Linked DNA regions of Homo sapiens: all the other regions are linked to region 4. Evidence: promoter capture Hi-C in 16 types of primary human blood cells and fetal thymus (Javierre and others, 2016). All regions are on one chromosome and are shown on one strand. Each heading gives the region's core, a stretch centred on a gene start or on the middle of the fragment in contact. The rest is flanking DNA. Distances are from core to core; before and after follow the strand shown. Region 1 overlaps DOCK8 (dedicator of cytokinesis 8). Region 2 overlaps DOCK8 (dedicator of cytokinesis 8). Region 3 overlaps DOCK8 (dedicator of cytokinesis 8). Region 4 holds the start of DOCK8 (dedicator of cytokinesis 8). Region 5 overlaps DOCK8 (dedicator of cytokinesis 8).

What was found. Contacts are between HindIII fragments. The CHiCAGO score rates a contact against its expected background, and 5 or more counts as called.
Region 1: a fragment that was not itself captured here is called in contact with the fragment with the promoter of DOCK8 in region 4 in 2 of 17 cell types (neutrophils and monocytes); the score reaches 12.6 in neutrophils.
Region 2: a contact is called between a fragment that was not itself captured here and the fragment with the promoter of DOCK8 in region 4, in 2 of 17 cell types (neutrophils and total CD8 T cells). The highest score is 14.3, in neutrophils.
Region 3: a fragment that was not itself captured here is called in contact with the fragment with the promoter of DOCK8 in region 4 in 2 of 17 cell types (neutrophils and monocytes); the score reaches 14.4 in neutrophils.
Region 5: a contact is called between a fragment that was not itself captured here and the fragment with the promoter of DOCK8 in region 4, in 1 of 17 cell types (neutrophils). The highest score is 13.7, in neutrophils.

The regions. Positions count from the first base shown.
Region 1 is chr9:425,068-427,767 of GRCh38, forward strand. It overlaps DOCK8 (dedicator of cytokinesis 8), which reads left to right. Exons shown (of 48, transcript NM_203447.4): 34 at 1,818-1,914. Among named protein-coding and RNA genes, the nearest start is that of DOCK8-AS2, 44 kb to the right of the region's middle. The HindIII fragment of the contact is 3,245 bases long and covers 1-2,700 here.
Region 2 is chr9:345,326-348,025 of GRCh38, forward strand. All of the region lies in intron 14 of DOCK8 (dedicator of cytokinesis 8), which reads left to right. Among named protein-coding and RNA genes, the nearest start is that of DOCK8-AS2, 120 kb to the right of the region's middle. The HindIII fragment of the contact is 966 bases long and covers 875-1,840 here.
Region 3 is chr9:444,994-447,693 of GRCh38, forward strand. It overlaps DOCK8 (dedicator of cytokinesis 8), which reads left to right. Exons shown (of 48, transcript NM_203447.4): 44 at 1,377-1,613. Among named protein-coding and RNA genes, the nearest start is that of DOCK8-AS2, 24 kb to the right of the region's middle. The HindIII fragment of the contact is 1,160 bases long and covers 805-1,964 here.
Region 4 is chr9:213,415-216,114 of GRCh38, forward strand. It overlaps DOCK8 (dedicator of cytokinesis 8), which reads left to right and starts at 1,451. Exons shown (of 48, transcript NM_203447.4): 1 at 1,451-1,615. The coding sequence starts at 1,563. It overlaps DOCK8-AS1 (DOCK8 antisense RNA 1), which reads right to left and starts at 2,336. Exons shown (of 1, transcript NR_160804.1): 1 at 43-2,336. RefSeq lists silencers at 1,206-1,455, 1,466-1,515, 1,566-1,615, 1,786-1,925. The HindIII fragment of the contact is 3,855 bases long and covers 1-2,700 here.
Region 5 is chr9:407,112-409,811 of GRCh38, forward strand. The region is part of intron 28 of DOCK8 (dedicator of cytokinesis 8); the gene reads left to right. Among named protein-coding and RNA genes, the nearest start is that of DOCK8-AS2, 62 kb to the right of the region's middle. The HindIII fragment of the contact is 4,838 bases long and covers 1-2,700 here.

The DNA of each region.
Region 1 (2,700 bases), core at 24-2,523, 210 kb after region 4:
GTATTTTTTATCTTTTAGGATAAACAAAATATATTAAAAATAATTTCACTTTTTCTTTACTTTTTTAATGTGGTTACCACAATATATAAAATGACATATGTGGCCCCCATTGTTTCTACTAGACAGCATTGCTCTAAATTTAAAACTAAACTAGCAGTCAATTAATTAAAAAGGATGATAAGGGGCCGGGCACAGTGGCTCACACCTGTAATCCCAGCACTTTGGGAGGCCGAGGTAAGTGGATCACGAGGTCAGGAGATCGAGACCATCCTGGCTAACGCGGCGAAACCCCGTCTCTACTAAAAATACAAAAAAGTAGCCGGGCGCGGTGGCGGGCGCCTGTAGTCCCAGCTACTCGGGAGGCTGAAGCAGGAGAATGGCGTGAACCCGGGAAGTGGAGCTTGCGGTGAGCCAAGATTGCGCCACTGCACTCTGCACTCCAGCCTGGGCGACAGAGGGAGACTCCGTCTCAAAAAAAAAAAAAAAAAAAAGGATGATGAGGTTAAAATGGTAAATTTGATGTTATGTGTACTTTATCACGATATAAAAATTTGATGGCTCATGCCTGTGGTCCCAGATACTCAGGAGGCTAAGGCAGAGCATCACTTGAGCCCAGGAGTTCGAGGCTTCAGTGAGCTATGATAGTGCCACTGCACTCTAGCCTGGGTGATAGAGCAAGACCCTGTCTCTAAGGAAAAAAAAAAAAAAAAACTTTTAGATTTCATTTATTTTACACATATATTATCACTTGGAAAATGAGAAAAAGTGTCAAGTGGCTTGGGACCAGAGAGCCTATCCTAAACATGAAAACAAGTAAAACACACAGAAGTACTTATTTTTTGAGTCCTCAGTGGTATGTAAGCAGCTGCAGTGCCCCCATTATTAGGTTAATGGGACGCAAGAACAGGTAAGTGGTAACCCTGGCCCAGGACATATGAGCTGATATAATGATACCCCAACCCCATGGTAACATCTTGGCTACTGAGGCATCTTGGTAAAGTCAATTCTTCATACCTCCCTTTCCTTGCAACTAGATTTGGATGATGATACAAAATATCCCTTTACAGCTTCACTTAGATTTCATAAGAATGGATGGGCTAGCAAAAAAAACCATTCTGATTCCTTAAAGTGAAACCTAATAGAGGAGCGAGCACCAGGCAATTTCCCATTCCCTAGTGGGCAATGACCAGTAATGTCCGGCAGGATATTAGATCACCTGCCCTACAGGAATACAGTCTTGTTTCCCAATGGAAAAGGACGAAAGACCCCACGCACTTGGCTGAGCAACCTCAAGGTGATCTTTGGGAAGTTAAGAGGCTGACTCTCCCCTGACTTGGCTCTGAAGCTCCACCCTTTCCTAACCCAGCCGCATCACTGCCAAGTTCACATCACATCCAGTCTCACTCTCTCTCGCATGTTGCAGGGGCTTCCCCTTACTCAGATCTAGCAATGGTTTTCATGCGTGAAATACAGCCATGGCCCTGAGGCTTTAGGCAACAATCTGAGAGGGGAGCTTAATTGCTAGTAGCAACTAATAACTGCTTCTCTACCCATAGTGTTATTTTTATAATTGTCCTCATCATTATTAATAATAGTGGGGATGAGGATGACCAGGAAACCTTACCTAGACAGTTGTTTCGACAAGACATGAATCACAGAAGGCACCTGCACTGTAGTTACTCAGGGCCAGTTGCTCTGTTTTCATTTCAAGGTTGACTATTTTGGAGATTTCTTTACACCTTGGTGTATAGATTGCCATCATGGGAACCTGGCCAGGTTTGACATGCGCTTTAATTTGACCTCTTGTTGTTTCCTAGAACAAAGGCCGAGTTAGATCAAGAAGCCTTGATCAGTGGCAATCTGGCTACAGAAGCACATTTAATCATCCTGGATATGCAGGAAAACATTATCCAGGTGAGGAAAACAAACACCCAATCTGATTTGTTGGCCATGAATATGTTTACTAGAATAAGGACTTCTTTATGCAAAATTGTGAAAGACATAAATGTGATCCCATAGTACCTTTTTTAAAAAAATGAAGTTGAGAAGTTTACTATTTACAACAGTGTCTACCTTATAAATTCCAGAGATACCAAACATTCTTCTGGCTTCTTTGACTTAGGGCTTACTTGGAGAGGGTTAGGTGTTTGGCCAGCTGACCCTCTTGGTTAAATCTGTGTGAGTATGTACCAAGTTTATAATATGGATGTTGGGTTTATCGTTTAGTATCTAGAACAGTAGTGGTAAGTAGAATTTTTTCTGATGGGTCAACTCCAGTTGAATGATGGTCACTGTCTGATATGGGAGCTATGATTATGACTAGGCTAGGTAAAAAGAGTGCTAAATTTGACAAATGATGTCTTCTTTGGACTTAAATTTGTTAAGGAAAGTCATTTGTACCATGAATTTGCCATCCCTGCTGTAGAAAAATATAGCTTTGTGAACTTTGTACCATACTAATTTTATCTTCTATGTGATTATTTCCACAAATTCCCAAGCTGTCTAGGTAATAATGAGTTTTTAATTACCCTGAAAAATGAGTTCTTACATGTTTCCATTGAGAAGTCATTCATTAGAGTAGGTCCAGGATTGCTTTTAGGGCTAGAAGAAATATCGTTGAAACACAGTGAAATCTTAATTCTCTAACTTTTGAATTGTCTAAAATCAAAGTAATCATCATACAAAAATAAACACAAAAAG
Region 2 (2,700 bases), core at 108-2,607, 130 kb after region 4:
TTGATCTGCCTGGAGCTTGTAGCTAACACCTCTGTCGGGCCAAACAATAAATGCTTACACTGAGAAAGCCAGGTTTGGGATTTCAAATTAATGTGCCCTTAACATAAACTGCAGAGCCCCCCTGGGTGGAGGGAACTATTACCTGGTTCTAATAGCAGATGTTTTCTGGCCTTGAGTGCCAGTGGTAACCAGAGTCACACATTTTAGGATTTTGGTATTGATGAGGGTTTCAGCTGAATATTACTTGAGTTGAACTCCAGTTATCTTTACCTGTCTTAAAGGAGCAGCTGCCATAGTGCCTCAGGTAAAGTTGGCTTGGGATAGGCTGGCATTGCCTTCCAGTCCCCAGCCTCACCTTCCTCCCACCTCTTCACTGCCTCTTTTCTTTGCCCTGCCCCTTCAGGTGTCCTGCGTGGGGCACCATTCGAGTTGCATTCTAGTGTATTAGGTTGGTGCAAAAGTAATTGCGGTAATGTGTGTGTGCTGCCCCGTGTCTCTACCTTATTCAAGTTTCTTTAAGGAACAGCTGTAGATGAGTTCTGGTAGAACTGGGTAGTGCTCCCAGAAGTATCCCCGTGGGTCCGTGAGGGTTGGGCATTCATAAAATAAATCCTTGCTCTAACGATAGAGACCAACTTCTAGAGCCAGAAGTGCTCATCCCAGGAATGACCAGGGGCTCCCAAACCAGCGGCTCGGGCCCTCTGCAGTGCCATGTGCAGCCTCTGTGGGTTAGAGGCATGGAGCTAGAGCAGGGTCCTCTGAACCAGAGCCAGGCAGGACACTCTGAGAAATCACAAGCAGAAGGACAGCAATTCTGAAAGCAGAGCAGAACAGCTGGAAAAACTGAGCTGATGAAAAGGATTATCCGAATCCAAGCTTGGCGTTCCTTGCTCTGTGTCCAGATTAAGAAAATGCTAGTGGTTTGCCTAGGAACACATTTGCACCAACTCCTGGCTTATTTTCCATGTGACCCAACAGCTGGTACTAGAGACACCAGCTGCTTTCTGGTGGGGGCAGAATGAAAACAGCATGGGCTGAGGCCAAGGCCCAGCAAGGTCTTCAAGGGCATCCTATCCTGCGGCCGCCAGAGGGGTATGTGCGGAGATCACAGGCAATGAGGTTGTAATGAGCTGTTAAGCTCCCTGCCGTCCCTTTAATGGGTGATTACAGTAAAAAGAGCCACATAAAGTACGTTTTCATCTCTCACTTCAGCCCCCGAGAGCCTCTGAGGTCTTGTTTATCCAATTATCAGACTTGCTGTGGAGGACGGTGCTTGCTGAGAACAAGCATATCAGTTGGAACATGATTTCTCTGATGGATAATTAGCTGTTTTCAGGACTCCTCCTATTCAGCTGAATGTTCTCAGACCAGAAGTCTGATCTGGCCTAACGGGGATGTGCTCCCATATCGCAGTGGAGTCTTAAGGAGTACTACCCACCTTCTCTTCTGCGGGGGAAAAGGAATGGCGTAGCATGCATGCAGGACCTGACCGGAAGGAATGTCTGCGAGTTATGATTTAGTGACTAGAACTTCTAAGGAAAGAAATGAACCAGAAATAACTGCAAACGAAGTGGTTAGGAAGAGGGGCAGGACATGGGGAGTATCCTTGAAAGGGACTTAATTTCATCCAAGGAAATAGGTTCCCAGTTTAAGCCCAGTTAGCTCTGTATTCAGAGTGGATCTTCTCAGTGCTAGGTGAAGGAAGGGTGGTTGTGCATCAGAGTAAGTGTCCAGCCCCACCCTGAAGACTCCCATTCAGGTGGTCTGGGATGGGGCACTGGTGGTCTGACACTCTCTTTTGTTCAAAATCAAAGCGTCCCCCTCCTTCTCATGGAAGGGAAGCTTCCACCAACCCTTAATGAGTTCCTGTACCATATGGAGTTGTCAAATGCTCCATACCGGGCACAGCGGCTCACACCTGCAATCCCAGCACTTTGGGAGGCCGAGGCGGGAGGATCCATTGAGCCCAGGAGTTCAAGACCAGCCTAGGCAACATAGCAAGACCCTGTCTCTACAACAACAACAAAAAAATTAGCCAGGGGTGGGGGTCCACACCTGCAGTCCCAGTTACTTGTGAGGCTGAGGTGGGAGGATCGCTTGAGCCAGGAAGGTCGAGGCTACAGTGAGCCGTGATCATGCCACTGCCCTCCAGCCTGGGCAACAGAGTGAGACTCTTTCAAAAAACAAAAACAAAAAACTCTGTCCTAAGTATCAGATGATGCGGAAGCCCAGTACTTGGTTTTACTAGGCTTAGCAAGCAGTCGCTTATGGAACAGAAGCTTTTATAAACAAACCATGTAGTTAGGAAGGGCAGTGGCAGCCCAGGCAAAATCTAGTCATTTGAATTAGCCAAGGAACGGAGACAAAGACAAAGTGAATTTCTGGTGCTAGTTGCAACTTGGTCTCGATAATAAATCAGGAACACAATCCCCACATTCCTAATGCCTTGCTCCAAAACTCAGCAATCCTCCTATTTGTAAGAATGAAAAAATTCAGGAGGGAACCAATTGCCTAAGGTTATGACAGCAAAGCTACCGTTCCAGTATAATATTCAGCCACTAGAGGACACAATTCACTCACTTTCTAGATTCAGACACACGACTACCTTTTTCGTTACAAAACATATGAAGTCGTGATTTATGAAAGTAGGACACATATTGTATTTTTTGCCCTTGAAGTGCAAGACCAGGAAAAACTGAA
Region 3 (2,700 bases), core at 135-2,634, 230 kb after region 4:
TATGAAGAAGATAATGGAAGAGGGGAAGAATTGGCCAAATTGAAGAGTTTGTTTTTCTACATTTTTCAGAATGCTTTCTCACTTAAGACACATTCCCTAGCCTCGGCTTGAAAGCAGTGGCTGTGGTAAGAGTTTAACTAATCTTCAGACACACATGTCTGGGAGATGGAGTTGGCCGTGTGCCCACAGTGATCTGTACATAGCACAAGCTGTGTAAAATGTGACCTCCCTCAGCCAAGGTGCCCTTTTCCCCTCTTTTAAAATTCCCAGGGTAGGTTGTGAGAGTTTGGAATGAGAGTCTGAACCCAGAGTTACAACCAGATTTCATTATACTAAGTCGTGATTTACAGTCTGAGGTCAGTGACCCCACTCATCCCTTTCAGTGGGTGAGTGTCCCAGCATCTGAACTCATGGTCACTTTTTTTCCTAAGAGATTGTCGTCTTTAATGAGTACTTATTCGCTCTGTGTTTGAGGGTGGAGGTGATGTGAGTGTGTGTTTAAATGAGGCCTAGGCAGTAAAATTCAGTTTTGGTGTTTAGTTCTATGAGTTTTGACAAACACATGTGACTACCTTCATAACCAAGATATAGAACAGATCCACCACTCCAAAATACTTCCCGTGCCCATTGGTAGTCCATGTTGCAATAGTTCCTTCCTTTCCGTTGCTGAGTAGTATTCTGTTGTGTGACTACCTCACCATTTGCTTGTTAATTCCCCACTGGAGTGACATTTGGGTTGTTTCTAGTCTTTGTTATGAATAAAGTTGCTGGAGACATTTGTGTACAGGTTTTTGTATGGACATAAGCTTTCATTTCTCTCCTGTACACACATAGGAGTGGGGTTGCTGGGTCCAATGGTAGTGCAGTTTAACTGCATAAGAGACCGCCAGCTTCTTCTGCAAAGTAGCTGTGCATTTTGCATTCCCACCCTCTGTGTATGACAGCTCTAGCTGATCTCCATCCTTGCCAGCACTTGATATTGTTAGTTTTCTTTAGTTCGGCCATTCATGCTTCCTCATAACTGTGAGGTAGTCATTGTCATTCTGTAAAGGAAAGTTTGTCTCTTTGGAATAGCAGTTTGCAAACTCTCATACCAAGGCTTCCACTGTGGATCAGTTTGCTCTGCTAGGAAGGTGCGGCCGGTGGCCCTCACTCTCCCCACAGGCACATTCCCCTCTCCCTCCTTGCAGCCCCTTCTGTCCTTGGGGGTGGAGAGGAGGAACTTCTGCTGGCCACATTCTCCCCTGCATCTGTAGCTTTTCTGCACTGGGCAGGGCGGTGCCGGCACGCCGTGTTCCTGCATGCCCCTCCATTGCGTCAGGGATGGCCGTTTGCAGAATAGCTCATCTTCTCCCTCCGTGCCTTTTCCCCCTTAGGCCTACATACAGATCACTTTTGTGGAGCCCTACTTTGATGAGTATGAGATGAAAGACAGGGTCACATACTTTGAGAAGAATTTCAACCTCCGGAGGTTCATGTACACCACCCCGTTCACCCTGGAGGGGCGGCCTCGGGGAGAGCTGCATGAGCAGTACAGAAGGAACACAGTCCTGACCACTATGCACGCCTTCCCCTACATCAAGACCAGGATCAGCGTCATCCAGAAGGAGGAGGTAATGCACCCAAGGGATTGGCCACCACTGGATGAGTGGGCTGGGTGGCCTCCCAGGAGGACCCACAAACCTCTTTCACAGTGGATTGGACTGAAAACAAGGAGGGATGCACTTGAAATATGATTATATGGTTGTCCTTTCACTCTCATAGTGCCAGAAAATCCCATTTAGGCAGCTACATATTTTATAGCACTATTGTATATTAAATATTTAATATTTTAAAGTTATATCTTTAGTATAAGTGTGTTTATGTATTTAATTATAATATTTAATATATATTTCAATTATAAACTTGTACAACAGATATATTTACCTTTTAAATATTTTATATAAAATTTTTCTATATTTCAAAGCTTAGAGGTGATTCAAGCATAGTCGTGCTGTTAATTATTGGAGACGGGACCTGCACGTGGGCAGCCCCAGTGAGGCGGTGGTGTGCTGTGGGAAAGGGCCGTGTAAGGTAGACAAGTTCACTGACTAGCTTCTAGTCCTAGCTTCCTCCTGTGATTTTAAACAAGCTACGTACCTTCAGTTTCTTCATCTATGCATTAGCAGGAAAGACCTCTAAGTACAGTACAAGATTATACTCATTTTATTAATAAAAGGACTGGTCAAGAAGGTCTCTCAAACCACAGAATTGTTCAAAATTCTACACACCATAAACAACTTATTATTCTTTAAAACACATATATATACACTTATTTGTCGTCCTTTTTATGCAGGGCCACAGACTTCTCTGTGACTGTGGGTTTGCTGATCACAATTCAGCATTTTCTTTTATAAACCACACCCGTAGTGCTTTGTCCATGATTTTCAGTTTTGCTTTGTGTAAGCAGAGTGAGAGCTTAAAGATCCTTGTTAAACAATTTGAGAGCAGAAGCCTTCTGGATGTTTATGATGTTTTTCTCCCCGAGACTTTGACAGCAGTCTTGTGCACACCTAATATGACAGGAATTTTTATAGCAACTCACTTTCATAATATCTTGTCCAACCATTTGGCTTGGTTTTCATAGAAAGAAATCTTTTTCTTTCCACACCCATGGTTCATCAGTTTCTCCATTATCTAATTAGATTGGGTCATTAAAAT
Region 4 (2,700 bases), core at 201-2,700:
AGCCACATGTGTAATTTTACATTTTTAAAAATGCAAACCACATTTTTAAAAGGGGAAAACAAACAGGTGAAATTAACTTTAATAATATATTTTTTATATCCAAAGTATCATTTAACATGCAATCAACATGAAAATCATTAACAAGACATTTTACACGATGTTTTCTGCGCTGTCTTTAAATTCCAGTGTACATTTTACACATCCAGCAGTGGGCAATTCAGACTAACCATAATGCCGAGTGGTCAATAGCCACATGTGGCTAGTGGCTATCATATTAAATAGTGCAGGTTTGAACCAAAAATACTTCGCTTTGGTTGTTTTTTTTTTTTTCTTTTAGACGGAGACTTGCTCTGTCGCCAGGCTGGAGTGCAGTGGCAGATCTCGGTTCACTGCAAGCTCCGCCTCCCGGGTTCAAGTGATTCCCCTGCCTCAGCCTCCCAAGTAGCTGGGACTAAGGCGTGCGCCACCACGCCCGGCTAATTTTTTGTATTTTAGTAGAGACGGGGTTTCACCACGTTGGCCAGGATGGTCTCGATCTCCTGACCTCGTGATGCGCCCGCCTCGGCCTCCCAAAGTGCTGGGATCACAGGCGTGAGCCACCGCGCCCGGCCTGCTTTGGTATTTTTTAAGAGCAAGTTGGTAAATGGAGGCATTATATGGAGAGTGCTCGAGTATATATAGCACAGGTTAGAGCAGCACGCCGGCACCTTGAAGCGAACACGGGCTCCTCCACTCCCGTCAACACTGGGACTTTTCTGTTTTTATCTTGAGTTTGAGGCCGGGCTTCTTAGCAGACCTCAGTCTGAAACTGAAATAAACCTGGACGCAGCGTACCCTTGAATCGCAAGAACGCCGCCTTCAGTGTTTCTCCGGAGAAAAGCATTCACGCCAGGTTGTGACGAAAACATTTTTTGAGAACTCATAATGTTTATTCCTTGGATGAATCCATTATATTTATTTAGTGTCTCAGGAAGGATGATGGGCATATTGCTTGCAAAAGTTGATTTGAATCCTGATAGATTCCACTAACTTTTTTGTCTTTTTTTTTGGCTGCCTTCTTCGAGAATGGTGTCAACCCTTAATAACACCTAGCCTTACGAATCCCTGGGGTGATTCCCGACCTCGCCAGCTTTGTGGGGCTCCCCCGACTTGCCTACATTCCCTGGCAGCCTCGCAGCTTCGGGCAGATGGAGCTTCCGGCCTGCGCGCAGTGGTCGCCTGTCGTCCGCCCGCGCTCCCTTCGGCCGGAGGTCGGCGGCCCCGGGCAGAGCGCGCCGTCTGCCCCAGTATCGGGAGGCCAGTTCCGCGCTGGGCCCACGCCCTCCTCGCCCGCCGCTGCCTGCGCGCCAGGCCGGGTGGCGGAGCCGGCCGTCGCTGCTCCGAGCTCGGACCCTCCCCCGGGGTGATTTCGGCTTAGAAGGTGGAAATGCGGAAGTTTCCAGCGCCGACCGACAGACGAGGTTTGCGCTTGGCTGGGCATGTTCCGCGGCTACTCTGCGGCGCGCCAGGCCCCCGCTTTCCGCACCCCGCGACCCTAGAAGCCACCGAACCGCCGGCGGGCCATGGCCACTCTGCCGAGCGCAGAGCGCCGCGCGTTCGCGCTCAAGATCAACAGGTAAGACGCCCCCCGCGGCGCGCAGGTTGCGGCCGGACAGCCCAGCGCTGGTGTGAAGCGGAGCTTCGCTGCAGGGGCCGAGGCCGGACGAGTCCATTCGCGTCCGCGGCGGGGCGCGCCTGAGACCTGGGGCGCCCGGTTCCCGAGGCTGCGGCGGTGGAGCCGCTGGACGCGCGGCGGCTCCTGCGCTGGGCCCGGCGAGGTCCTCCCCAAGAATCTCGGTGCTCCTGGATGTCCTCAGCCGCCGGGGATCCCTTCCCCGAACAACCTCGCCCGCTCCGCCCTCCAGGTTCTTACAGGTGGCCGGGTCCCAGAAGGGTGATAGGCGCCTGGGTAACCGTGTTGGGCGCGCCACGGAGTGTCTCATAAACGGCTCCTTCCTTTGAGGCAAGTCTGAGCGCGGGGGGAAGAAGTGAAGTGGCTGAAATTAGAGTTGCGTTTGAGGCAGGCTGCAAGCCTTCTGTCGTCCTGAGCAAGGCTCCGTCCTCGCCTGCTTCATTATTCCAGAAAGAGCTTGGCTCCTGGTGGCATCGCTATTTTTATACCCTGGTCCAAAGGAGCCATGAAGTGGAAAAAGTGATTTTTTAAAAAATCTACACTTAAATAAACCAAAAGAAATGGCCTGTGGCTGACATTTTGAGATTTACAGAACTCCAGCAAAAAGCTAAGGACTGGGGGATCCCAACTCACCATCCAATTCCTAATCAAAGTTGCACAAACTAAATATGTAAGCACATTTACTGCTCAAAGTTCTCAGTAAAGGTGCTTTAACTGCAGTTTTTCCTCCACTAAAAACTGCTGACAAGTAATTGGGACATTTTTGTCTTGCCCTGAGAAAGCTAGACTGTCTAGTTAAAAGATAATAGGAAACTCATTCTAAAGTGTCAACTTATTCTATTGCCCACAGGGCTGTCCGATTTGTTAATCTTCACTTAGCTGAGCCTGTGAAAGGTGGATTCCACCGTAGGTTCATCTTTGTGCTGTTAGTGTGTGAAGAGGTTTGAACAAGGAATTAAAAGCCTAGAAAAACAAGGCGATAAGGTCTTCTAGAGGGCATATCGAGCTTTATTGACGATTTTATTTCC
Region 5 (2,700 bases), core at 1-2,500, 190 kb after region 4:
CAGATGTTCTTTAATAAAATTTGCAGTCTAGCTTCTCACACTTGGTAAAAAACTCTACTGTAGTTGACCAGTTCTGAGGAGTAGAAACATCTGTCTTGAGAATATGGTACCCATAAGCACAAGGCACAAGAAAGGCCTTTCTTGTGTAGAAAGGCACCAGGGATGGGTAAGAACTACAAAATGACTTTTCTTGGTCAACTATTTCAGTGGAATTTACCAGTTCTGCTATAGCAGGTTTCCCAAGGATGCTTTGATTAGTGAACTCCCTAGGAGCAAAGCCATTTTTAACAAAGGGGATAGCATGCAGAGGCAACCACAAGATGTCACTTGGTTCAAAGCTGATGAAGGAAATAATGGCTGCTGAGAAGGCAGCTGTCCCATGCCCAGATTAGGTTTCTTGCAGACAGTGCTTCTCAGGCCAAGAGACACCACACATCCAGGGCTTCTGAATCCTTTTACCTCTTATCTATCTGATTACTCAGGGACATGTGGCAGTATCTAGCCTAGAAGTCAACAGACAGAGAGGTAGACCACCCCCTTCTTTCCTTCTCTCCCTATGCTCCGTGAGCTCATGGAGTCAGAAACCCACAGCCTATCTGATTGGACTGAAAAAGATAATGCCTTCTAAAATATTATTCATTCCGTTCAACAATTATTGAATGCCTTCCATGGGACAGACACAGTTAGGTGTTAGAGTACATCAGAGATATATCAGTGCACAAAACAGACAAAATTCGCTGCCCCTCAAGAGCTCACCATCCAGGGACTCAGATTCAAAGATGATTAGGATTGCAAAGTAGTTGAGATTCAACACTTCTGGTGTTTAGATTAGGCATACAGAATTGCAGGAACTTGCCCACTATTCCATAACAGAGAACGAAATCTAAAGCCATGGTCTTCCCAGTCCCTTCCCAGGACCCACTCTCCTATACCAAACCATCTCCCTGCACAGGGAACCTGTTCCCATGACTCCTATGCTAAAGAGGTTTCCAGAATAATGTTTGCTAATTAATGGTAGCATTGCTGTATGTTATGGATGGATTTTTATCTAAATGGAATTTCTCAAGTTCTCTCAAAGTGCTTACAATTTAGTGAAGGAAACAGGAGGTTCCTGCATGAAACAAATACAGGAGCACATCGAGTTCGTGCAACTGCAACAGTCACATGTGTCCCAAGCTATGTACCCAGGCTGACACCGCTGAAGTGACTCTATGTCTGCGTCTCCTGGCAGGATAGTGTGGGGAATCTCATGCTTTTAGCTCTCAATTCTGCCTCCTTCCAGATAAACTGGCCTGAGTATATCCTTTGAGAACTTCACTTTCCATGGCTTCAATTCTATCTTCTCTTCTCAACTCTAACTAAATTTCTCCCAATTATCTCAGTAGAATGTTCTACCCTACAACTAACATAAATTTCCACAGCAACAAAAAGTGCACCGAACACTTATGCTAATAAGTAAGATACTGAGAAGAAAGTTTGAACACAAAGAAAATTGCCTTCATGCACAAACATGTACATACATTTTCTTAGTTGTCCTTTAATAGCAGTACTTTAAGTGATTTCTAGAAACATCTTTAGTATTTACAATAGCGTAGTTTCTATTTTCTATTTTCATTCTAGCTGGAAACAGCCATGACATTCTGTTCTGGATTCCTTGTAAAATTGTTGCTGTTATATTACTAGCAACAAGGTAGAGTATATTCAGAGATAATCATGTAATTATGTTTAATCAGGTAGATACATTCTTCAAACACACACACACACACACACACACACGCACACACGCGCGTGCACATGCACACACACAGTACCCTTTCTCCCCCAAAAGAGTAATTAACAGTGTAACTCCTTTGGCAACACAGTAATCCCTGATTGCTGGGTTGTCAGTTACTCTCCTGGAAAGTCATTAGATACACTGTCACAACTTCATCATGTAAGCTAAAACCTCAGAAAAATGTCATGCTTCAACAATACTTCCTATTGATCAGCACTTCCTTTTTTTTTTTCTTTTGCTTCCAAGACAGTTGGTAGACTTGCCAACACCTGTACATCCATGGGGCAAGGGCCAGAAGGACGCATCTCAGTACCTGAACCCCTAGGGAGCTACAGCTCCAGTTTCCACTGGGTTTCCCTTGGATCTCTGACACCTGGGTATATCCACAAGTGTCTATGCATCGTTAAATCCACAGTGTTTTTCAAGCATTTAGAAATTGTCTATCATCTTTGTGTTAAGCCAGCAAATTGCAATGCCTAATTCAAAACACAACCCATTGCCGGGACCACAGACTAAGAACAAGAAAAACTTTTGAAATGCAATTTACAATTATCTTACTTTAGCCACAGTGCAAGAGTCTGAGTCATTTAAAATTTTGGTTAATATTTTCTATATAACGTTGAATTCTGATGTAGCCTTATTTTGTTTGAAAGAAAAAAATGTATATATATGTATATATTTTTTAAATCTGGATTCTTTTTTTATTATTATCATACTTTAAGTTCTAGGGTACATGTATACAACATGCAGGTTTGTTACATATGTATATATGCGCCATGTTGGTGTGCTGCACCCATTAACTCGTCATTTACATTAGGTATATCTCCTAATGCTGTCCCTCCCCACTCCCCCCACCCCATGACAGTCCCCGGTGTGTGATGTTCCCACCTATGAGTGAGAACATGCGGTGTTTGGTTTTCTGTCCT